3 separate regions of the Homo sapiens genome follow, and all the other regions are linked to region 2. Evidence: promoter capture Hi-C in human tissues and cell types (Jung and others, 2019). All regions are on one chromosome and are shown on one strand. Each heading gives the region's core, a stretch centred on a gene start or on the middle of the fragment in contact. The rest is flanking DNA. Distances are from core to core; before and after follow the strand shown. Region 1 overlaps SLC35H1 (solute carrier family 35 member H1). Region 2 holds the start of DBNDD2 (dysbindin domain containing 2). Region 3 overlaps ELMO2 (engulfment and cell motility 2).

Region 1 (3,240 bases), core at 1-2,500, 950 kb before region 2:
AATGGGGAGGTGGGCCCTCGATGTGGCCTTTTTGTGGAAGGCGGTGTTGACCCTGGGGCTGGTGCTTCTCTACTACTGCTTCTCCATCGGCATCACCTTCTACAACAAGTGGCTGACAAAGGTACCAGGAGGCCTTGCTGGGGCGGGGTGCTGGGATGAAGGTGGCCAGAGCCATGGCTACGGTGCCCTTCATGTTTAACAGGAAGGCACAAGCTTCAACCAGTCTAACTGGAAGCCAGTCACGGCTGGGCTGGAACAGGGCCCTCCAAGCCTGCCGTGCCAGGGTTCCCCTTCAGTGTTTGGATCCAGGGAAACCAAGGAGAGCGGGGGGTGTGAAGGGATGAGCTGGGGAAACTGGGGCTCAAGCAGCAGCTATTTACCCCACTAGAGAAGTATTTCAATATTTTAATAAGTGATACAACGTAGTGGGCCGCAGTGGCTCTCACTTGGGCATAGGCCGTGAGGAAGGCTGGGCAGGTAGCTCACAGGTGTGTTGAAATGGTGGAGACAGCACCAGGCTAGGATTGAGTCTCTTGGCTGCCACCTGTCTTCGTGACCTAAGAGTCTGTCATTCCAAGCGATGATACCGTAACTAAGGGCCCTACACACATAGCAAGGTCCTCATGAACCACCGAATGAGCCCCACTCCAGCAGAGGGGCGAAGAGGAAGAGGGAGCCGGTGGGGGGCAGGCTGTCTAAACCAAGCCGGGGTGTCTGCTTTGGGCTCCATACAGAGCTTCCATTTCCCCCTCTTCATGACGATGCTGCACCTGGCCGTGATCTTCCTCTTCTCCGCCCTGTCCAGGGCGCTGGTTCAGTGCTCCAGCCACAGGGCCCGTGTGGTGCTGAGCTGGGCCGACTACCTCAGAAGAGTGGCTCCCACAGGTAGGTGGGGGACCTCAGTGAGGGCAGAGCAGGAAGAGGGGCTGGGGAACCATAGGATGAGAACAAGAGAGACACCCGCATGTCTGGAAGCCAAGTCCCTCCCCTCTTCCTGCACTGTTCCTCCTCTGCCCTCTTGACCTGGCCTCCCACCACCCACGCTGCTGCCTCTTGTGCACTGCGTGCCTTCCCACTGCCCCACCACACACCCACAAAACCCCCCCTGCACCTGCGGCCCCGCAGCTCCCTCTCCTGCCAGCAGACACCGAGCCTGGAGTGCAGCCCTCAGGCCTGGAGATAAGTGGTGAGCAGGCAGGGTCCCTGCCCTCGCAGGGCTGTGACACGGACATGGAGGGCACTACGGAGCCCAGGGAGGGGACCAACCCAAGGCCGGGGCCCATGGCTGGTAGAGGAAGATTTCCTAGGCCAGGTGCCAAGTAGGCAGAGCCCTGAAGGATGCGTGGGACTGGTTGGCCCTGGGAGGAGGGGCCCTCGTGGCCCGAGGGAGATTTAGTGCCAGCTGTGGGGTCTGGAAGGGAACTCAAAGTGTTTCAGGATACTGAGAACCCGGTGCTGGCCAGAGGAAGTGGGAAAAATGAGAACTGAGAGGGTGGGCAGGGGTCATGTCCTGGAGGCCGGATTCCCCGTGGAGGAGTTTGTGTTCCATCCTGAGGGAAAAGGGTTTCCAGTAAGGGATCAACCAGATCAGGTTAATACCTCCGCTCAGGGGGCTCGCCGGAGTGTTTGTGGAAACCATACCGGCCCAGCCAGTTGGAATGGGCCCCAGCCCTAATGCTAGAGCAGCCCCCGACCTTTGGGGGCCAGATATTAACCCTTTAGTTGCTGGTGGAAAAGAAGGCCCAAGGGCCCCACAGGAGGCACCGGGATGGTTCAGAAGTGGGGGACACTCAGGTGCCTCAGGGTACCAGCCCACCCCAGCAGAGTGTGGACCTCCCAAGCTGTCCTGTGGGTGCCTGTGTCTTCACAGCTCTGGCGACGGCGCTTGACGTGGGCTTGTCCAACTGGAGCTTCCTGTATGTCACCGTCTCGCTGTGAGTACTGGCCATGCCCTGCTGCCTCCCTTCAGGCTGAAGCTGTCTGTCTGTCCAGCGGGGTGTCTGCACACCCGGCTGCTAGGCCAGCCACTCCACCACTCTGGGACCAGCCCTTGCTCTCTCAGCCTCTCCCTGGCACCCAGCAGCTCTCCGGGAAGTCGCCAGCCTCTTCCGTAAGCCCAGCGCAGAGGAGATGCTGTGCCCACCTGCCAGGCAGCGTGGGGAAGCCAGGGAGCTCTCCCAGAACCCCATCATCAGAGCAGGGGAAGGCAGGCTGCAAGGCCACAGACAGGTGGCCACTGGTGGGTGGTACACGCAGCCGCAGCAGAGCCCTATGTGGCCTGGGGGCTACACAAGAGTTTCTTCTTCCCTCTGATGTTTTGCTTCAGAGAGCACTGTTCCTGCCTTCTTGTCCTCCTACTTCTCATCCTTCCTTCCCGCTCCTGGGCTCTGCCGAGGGTTAGGTAAAGAACAGGACTCAGGGAGCTCAACGTCAGACCTGTAACCTCTTCTCTCTGGTGATAACCAGAGGCCTCTTAGTCAGAGATTCCTTCTGATTAAAGGTCGCTTATCACTCAGATGACAGCCCAGCTCTGTTTGGTCATTTCGCTCAGTGATTTGTGCTCCTGCTCCTTTCTCGGTGATGGGTCTGAGCCCTGAGCTCCAGCAGTGCATTGTGGGTAATTTTGCTTCCAGGTACACAATGACCAAATCCTCAGCTGTCCTCTTCATCTTGATCTTCTCTCTGATCTTCAAGCTGGAGGAGCTGGTGAGGCCCCAGCGTCTCTTGTGTCCTTCCTGCCCCCACAGATGCTAAGAATAAAGTGGGAGTCTGAGCAGTGGCTTGTCCTGCTGTGTGACAGAGGAGACAAGCCCAGTCCAGGTGGCAGTAGATCCCTTTCTGAGAAGGGACCTAGACATGGGCAATACTCAGAATATTTAGAAACCAGTGTGGCAGGGTAATGACCAAAGGTGAAAGCACTGCAGGATGAGGGTCCCAGCAGAGCTGGGTCTAGGAAGCACCCTGCTGTGGGAGGCAGTAGCCCTGTGTGTTAGGCCCAGGGAGGAGGTGGGACCACTTGGGGGCCTAGGACAGCCGTCAGTGTGGCAGAGCAAGCAGGGCTGTTGGCATACCAGCTGACCGTCAGCCCTACATGCTGACATTGGTGGGCAAGGACTGTCCAGGACCCCCTGGGATGGAGCTGAAGGGTGGAAGGATTTCTTGCCCCAGGGGCAGCCAAGATGGCTGCTGACCCCAGGCTCCAAATGTGATGAACCCTTGACCCTCAAGACCCCCGAGTTA
Region 2 (3,089 bases), core at 424-2,923:
GGCTCAGCTCCTCCAAATGGTTGTCCATCCCTGCCCAGAGAGAAAAGCTGGTCAGGCCACAAACAGGGCTTCAGAGAACTCTTAAAGATTATCTGGCCAGGAGTAACTAAAGTCCACAGTGGGGCAGAGACTTGTCCAAAGTGACTTTGCCAATCCAGCAAAGAGCCAGGATTAAGATCACCATCTCCTGACTGCCAGCTCCTTCCACGTCATTACACCATGTCTGGGATCTACAGTCAGGTCAATGAATGGCAAGAGTTCAAGTTCCACCTACATCACTTATTGCTGCTGAGTGGCTTTGAGCAAGTCACTTTCCCTTTCAAGGACTCTGTTCCTCCTCTGCAAAATAAAAGGGATACCTACATCCCCAAAGGGTTTTGGGAATAAAACCTAAGAATGCTTATAAAATGTCTGGCATAGTAAGCCATCAATAAATAGTAGCAGTTTTAATTAAAAGAATATCTATCTTACAAGTTAAGCATATGGGCTTTGGAGTCAGACAGACATGAATTCCAGTTTATCTACCTTCTGGCTACAATGTGACTTAACTTCTCTGAGCCTAATTTCCTGCTTATAAAATAGAGATTATATCACCTACCCTGACAGGACGTTGTAAGGATTGAGATAATATATGTAAAGTACTTTAGTACAGTATTGGAACCTACTAAAGTACTCAATACATATTAATATCATTATAATGACTAAAACTACTTAAGTTGCCAAATATAAAAATTACAATTTTACATTATTTTAATTATAGTGACTAATTATATTAATATAACAAATGTAAAATTAAAGAAGAGATTGACCGTTCCCAGAATTTTGGATTAGAGATGTGTAACCCAGTTCTCCCTCAGGGTCAACTTCCCTAAAATCAGAACAGGCAGCTGTTTCATTGGTAGAAACACCCACTTCCAGCCCTTACTTGTGTACTTCCCCAGCCCAGCCTTGTAGCCTCGTTTCAGAGCCTGACATCCGGCTCTGGCTGACTGGCACTGAAGTCCCCAAAGCAGAGGGGCATACCAGACGACTGGGGGGTTGGTGGAGGATCTTCGCAAGGCAAGAACACATCTGCTGCATCCGGGTCCCCAAGGTCAATAAGTTCTACTTGCTCCAGTGTGTCCACATTCACTTCCATGGATGAGATACTACCTATGGGGGCTGCGGATCAAGAAGTGGGCAAGTCAGGAGGACCCAAGCTGCACACCAGGACAGTGAGAGTTACATGTCAGGTCCCAAGTTAGAAGCATAGAGGGCCAAGAAAACCAGAGGGGAGAGAGTGCCACAAGATTCAGGACCCACAGGACATCCTCCCTACCCTACCCCAGTCCCTCTTCTCAGGACTTGGGACTTACGTCTCTGCGACTCGAGATGCAGATGGGACAGAGGAAAGACAAACTCTGTCTCTGGCTGTAAAATGTCCTCGAAGAATTTTTGCCGCTCCCGAAGGCGGAGCTGCTGGCGCTCCAGGGCGGCCCGAGGATTTGGGTCCATGTCAGCTCCTGCGGGTAGAGGAGCAAAACAAGTACAGCTGCAAAGTCGAAAGAGAAGACAGAGGGGACCTGGGCTTGGGGCGCCCCACTGCAGCCAGCATCCCAACAGTGGGGCCCCTGGCTCCGGCCTGGACACCTCTGCCCTTGGTGACCTCTTTCCCCTTCCCTGAAACCAAGTGTGTCCCACAAACCAAGTCTCATGCAGAGGCGGGGCTTGCCCTAAGCTCCACAAAGGGGATGCCAGTTCCAGGCACCACAAGAGAGATACTCTGTATTCAGGGAACACAGCCAATGCCCAACTCTCCATATCATGCCCTCCTGAGAGGGGTTGGAGGGATTGGTTCAGCACAAATGGAGGAGGTACGTTTTCCCCTTAATTGGCCCCGCTTGCCTCAGAAGGCCAGGGACAGGATAGGATAGAGACAGAGATCTCAGGGTGGAGGGTTCCCTTCCTCCAGTGCTGCAGCCCACCCCTTCCCATCCTTCAAAACCCAGACAAAGGCTAAAGCAACTCCTCCCGCGCCCCTCCTTTTCTCTCCACCCACACAAACACGTACACACGCATGTGCCATCTACCCCAAACCCTTGCTCTGAAGTCACAGGCCTGACTTCCAGACTAGGCTCTGCCCCTAAGGAAATCACCTTTCTGGTCTTAGTCTCCCCATCTGAAAATGGCATAACCAACCTACCTGCCTCAAATACAAGACCCTGCTTGTGAAGGTGAGCTATTTAGGAGACTACCATCTTTCCTTTGAACTCCAACAGCTCTTTATGCGTCCCCCTCCTGGGACACATCTCACTGACTTATCTCCCCATTAGTCAGTGAGGAGCAATTGGAAAGGCGGGTTCTGGGTCCAGTTCAGAGCAGGCCTCCTGACCCCTAGGGCTGAGAAGCTGAGACCCTGCCAGAGCACTGAGGCTATGGGCCAGCCCAGGTCGGTGCATTCATTCCCATTCGCTCATCTCCTTCCCGGCGTTCTGCTCTGAGCCCATCACCAGAGGCAAGGGAGTTTCTAGCTTGAGGATCAGACGTCATCCTCCGCAGACTGCCTTCCCCACCTCATCTGCACCCAGCGTATCCCAGACCCTGGCCAGCTCCACGGGCGCCACAGAGGTGGAGAGGGACCCAACCCCGACTGGCCAAGGCAGGGCCACGGAAGTCTGGGGAGACCGTGCGGCCGCGGGCTGGCGGCGGAGGAGCGAGGCGCTGACGCCGATTCCCGGGAAAGGCTCTTAGAGCTGCCGCCCAGGTCACAACGCTAAAAATACCCAGGGCCCCTGGAGCCTGTGCTCCAGCAGCGAGGAGGGGGAGGGAGAGGCCAAGGTGGGGGAGCTGACGGGGGCCAGGGGCTCTGGGACACCCCCTCTCTTTTCCCCTCCCCCTAACCCCACCGATCTCACGAGACTGAAGGAGCTGTCCCCCGGGGGGCCGCGGAGCCCAGAGCTGGAGAAAGGGAGTTGTTTACGCGACCTATAGGTACTGGAAAGGGGGTGAAGAGATTTGGGGGCAGGAGGCTGCCAGGGGCCGGGCAGGAGCCAGCGAAATGGAGAACTCCCTCTCGGTCTCAGCCCCACCCGCACTGGAGCCAGCAAGAG
Region 3 (3,101 bases), core at 426-2,925, 990 kb before region 2:
GTAGACTTCTGAAGCATCCCATTCTGACTAGGAAATGGTCATGAAAGCATCCCTCTTTCTGAGGCCGATGGGCTTGTGGGGGACAGGACTTTTACTCCTTTTCATCTAAGAGGTTTATACTTACCAGGCTGTGAGAACTGACATCTGTGTTTGGGCTGAAAAATTGATAGCATACATGCATAATAGCCTCGCGACAGCTATGCTTTGTACGCCAGGAGAGGCAGGTGGTCCCCATTAGCGAGGCATGAATTGTGGGTGAATGGCTAAACCTGGAGGATGCAGAAAGGTCTTTTTCATTAAGAGAGGGGCCTCTCCTGAACTTGTAGGCAAGGAGTGTAAATATACATTGAAATAATCCATCAGCCAAGTGACTTCCCTTCGTCAGACCTTGGAGAGAGAATGCTTTAGTTACTGCTTGGAATACCAGTAAGCTATCAGAGTTGCCTAGGATACCAGTCACATGGGCCCATCTTCCAGACTTGCTCAGGATGATTTATTTTCCTTTATTTTGGAGAGAAGTGGGGGAGGGGGTCAGAGGTACTTGCAAAGCCTTGTCCTTATAAGAGGGGCCCTTGTGTGAGGATATCCTTACCTCTCTCCACTTGAGTTGTCAGCCGCCCTTGCCCTTGGCAGTAGGGACGAAAATAGCATTTCCTGTCCCAGTTATCTTCCCCATTTTCTGATGTCGTCCCACACAGAGGAGGCTTTGCATTGTGTCCTTTGAGGGGAAAGGGGTGGCATCGATGAGTGGGGAGGAAGCAAGAGAGCATGTAGCTGGGCCCTGCTGATGCTGGGATCTTCCTAGGATGACTGCAGAAAGAAGTAGCCTGGCTCCTCCAGCTAACCACTCAACCAAGAAAAGGCTGTCTATTCTTATCTGTCTCGGAGCATATGCTTCTCTCCTCCCAAGGTCTCAAGACAGGAATTTGCAGTAAATACATTCCTCTACCACTGAGTCTTCTTGACTCTTAAACTGAAGTGCCACATTGGCATATCTTGCTACTGGCTGATCTATGGATGATAGATAGTTTGTCCCATTTCTTCTTGCTGATTTAATCTCAAGAGACAAAATCCTAAGCAGAAGTTGTGGTATGATCTAGAAAAATTCAAACCAGGTAGTTTCATGTGTTACTTTATGCAGTGTCTGTCTTCAAACTCTTCAAAACATGTAACAAGAGTGAAAAATGAAGAAATACTCTTTTTCCACCTTTCTGATTCTTTCTCCCCAGGCAGCCGTGTCTGTGTTTTTGTCTCGCAGAATTAGAGCCCATTGGGAACGATGCCACCACCGTCAGACATTGTCAAAGTGGCCATTGAGTGGCCAGGTGCTAACGCCCAGCTCCTTGAAATCGACCAGGTATGCTCCTGAAGTGAGAAGCAGTGGTTCAAGGAAAGGCACCTGGGGAGTGCATGGCAGAGGACATCTTGAGGGATGGGGACCACCGGCATCAAGAGTAAGAACGAGCAACAGGAAGGCTAAGCTTTGGGCCTGGCCCACCCTAGGGAAGGTCGGTCACCATGGCTTGGGAGAGGCTTCCTCTTCAACAAAAGCTGTTAGGAAAGAAGTTCATTCTCATGCCCCAGCTTGACCCTGCTTGGCAGGCCTCTTGTCAGAACCTTGGCATGAGTAGGATGTTGCTGCTGTTGAAGGCTTTCTCTCTCTCTCTTTCAGAAACGGCCCCTGGCATCCATTATCAAGGAAGTTTGTGATGGGTAGGTTGAAATGGACCTCGTTTTCAACAGTGGCAGCTCCGACTGAAAGAGCACTCCTACACCTTGAGGGGAGTTCTGGGAAGGATCTCCAGTTAGGCAGGTCCTCAGCATGGGGGTCTTGGGAATCATTGTCTTGGGAAGGAAGTACAGTTGACAACCATACCCCTAAGACGTTTATACTTCTTAATTTTTTCCTTAAAGTCTAGCATTGCCCTATTGAGGTAGGATCTGAGACCCCTCCTCAGTTCTGCACACCTCCTATTGTGGTGCTCATCTTTACAAAAGGCTGAGGCCATGATTTTTTCAACATGACAACCTAAAGCTTTGTTTCCACTGTATTCCAAATAGGCCACCCAATCCCTTGAGCAACTCTTTTGAAAATTACTTATGAGCAGCTTCTGAACAAGAGAGTGGCCAAGTGGGATATACTGTTTTTCTCTTGCATAGGTGGTCGTTGCCAAACCCAGAGTATTATACCCTCCGTTATGCAGATGGTCCTCAGCTGTACATCACCGAACAGGTTAGTACAGGGAGAGGCAAAATCAATATGGGCCTTGCTTGGAATTAAACGACCCAAGGAGACGGCACTATTTATCTTCACTCAGCATCCAGGTAGCTTCCATGTGTTGGGTAAAGAGTCACTCTCCGGACAGACTGGGAAACACCAGCCCTTGTTCTTCCCTAGTGGCTAGAAAAAGGTGGCTTTTACTTCCTGAGTGCCCAGGGTGCTAGAGGAGGATCTTAGAAATTCTTTGCCAAGGAATAAGCAGGAGAAGAGGGCCCGACTGAAGATCCTCAGTTACATCTACTGTAAAAAAGACAAAACATTATTGTTGATTCAACTTGCTTGTACCACTTTAACATTTTATCTTAGTTACTTTTTTTGTTTATTTTTCACTACCCAGACTCGCAGTGACATTAAGAATGGGACAATCTTACAACTGGCTATCTCCCCGGTAGGTATTCTTTCTTCCTTAGGAGTTTATTCATGTCACAAACAAATATGAGCACCTACCATGGGCCAGACTCTGTTCTAGAAATAAGTACTCTGGAGATAAGAAAGTCAGTCTTTTTGTATCAGGAAATAGTACAGGAAAATAAGTCTGTCTTGGTTCTCACCACCTAGTGGGGAGTAAACAAATGCAATAGAAGGCCTGTCTCAAGGGTCTTGAGAGAAAGTTGCTTAGGGAGCTGTGGGAACTCACAAAGGGGACCACCTAACTCAGCCTGGAGATTTCCAGAAAGTCTTGCCAGAGAAGGCGTCACTTAGCTCAGATGTTAAAGGATGAGCAAGAATTAGCTAGAGAAATAAGAAAAGGAAAAGTATTCCAGTCAGAGAAATCAGCATATGCCAAGGCACAGAGGTATGCTGTGTTTGGGAAAAGCAG

Evidence for each region. The method cuts DNA at HindIII sites, captures the fragments that hold promoters and counts their contacts. A contact is called where the count stands out against the background at its distance.
Region 1: a fragment that was not itself captured here is called in contact with the fragment with the promoter of DBNDD2 in region 2 in 1 of the 25 tissues and cell types used here (aorta).
Region 3: a contact is called between a fragment that was not itself captured here and the fragment with the promoter of DBNDD2 in region 2, in 1 of the 25 tissues and cell types used here (spleen).

What each region holds. Positions count from the first base shown.
Region 1 is chr20:46,355,268-46,358,507 of GRCh38, reverse strand. SLC35H1 (solute carrier family 35 member H1) reads left to right here. Exons shown (of 10, transcript NM_015945.12): 2 at 1-121; 3 at 735-885; 4 at 1,871-1,934; 5 at 2,634-2,706. The coding sequence starts at 2. Among named protein-coding and RNA genes, the nearest start is that of SLC35H1, 7.5 kb to the left of the region's middle. RefSeq lists an enhancer at 1,459-1,958. The HindIII fragment of the contact is 7,023 bases long and covers 1-3,240 here.
Region 2 is chr20:45,406,873-45,409,961 of GRCh38, reverse strand. It overlaps DBNDD2 (dysbindin domain containing 2), which reads right to left and starts at 1,673. Exons shown (of 3, transcript NM_001048225.4): 1 at 1,356-1,673; 2 at 1,024-1,161; 3 at 1-30. The coding sequence starts at 1,494. SYS1-DBNDD2 (SYS1-DBNDD2 readthrough (NMD candidate)) reads right to left here. Exons shown (of 6, transcript NR_003189.2): 4 at 1,356-1,502; 5 at 1,024-1,161; 6 at 1-30. It overlaps LOC107985404 (a long non-coding RNA gene), which reads left to right and starts at 2,073. Exons shown (of 5, transcript XR_007067608.1): 1 at 2,073-2,213. RefSeq lists an enhancer at 2,536-3,085. The HindIII fragment of the contact is 23,713 bases long and covers 1-3,089 here.
Region 3 is chr20:46,392,661-46,395,761 of GRCh38, reverse strand. ELMO2 (engulfment and cell motility 2) reads left to right here. Exons shown (of 22, transcript NM_133171.5): 3 at 1,230-1,357; 4 at 1,673-1,713; 5 at 2,161-2,233; 6 at 2,619-2,669. The coding sequence starts at 1,280. LOC124904917 (a long non-coding RNA gene) reads right to left here. Exons shown (of 3, transcript XR_007067614.1): 3 at 1-2,521. Among named protein-coding and RNA genes, the nearest start is that of ELMO2, 12 kb to the left of the region's middle. RefSeq lists an enhancer at 1,029-1,528. The HindIII fragment of the contact is 3,871 bases long and covers 1-3,101 here.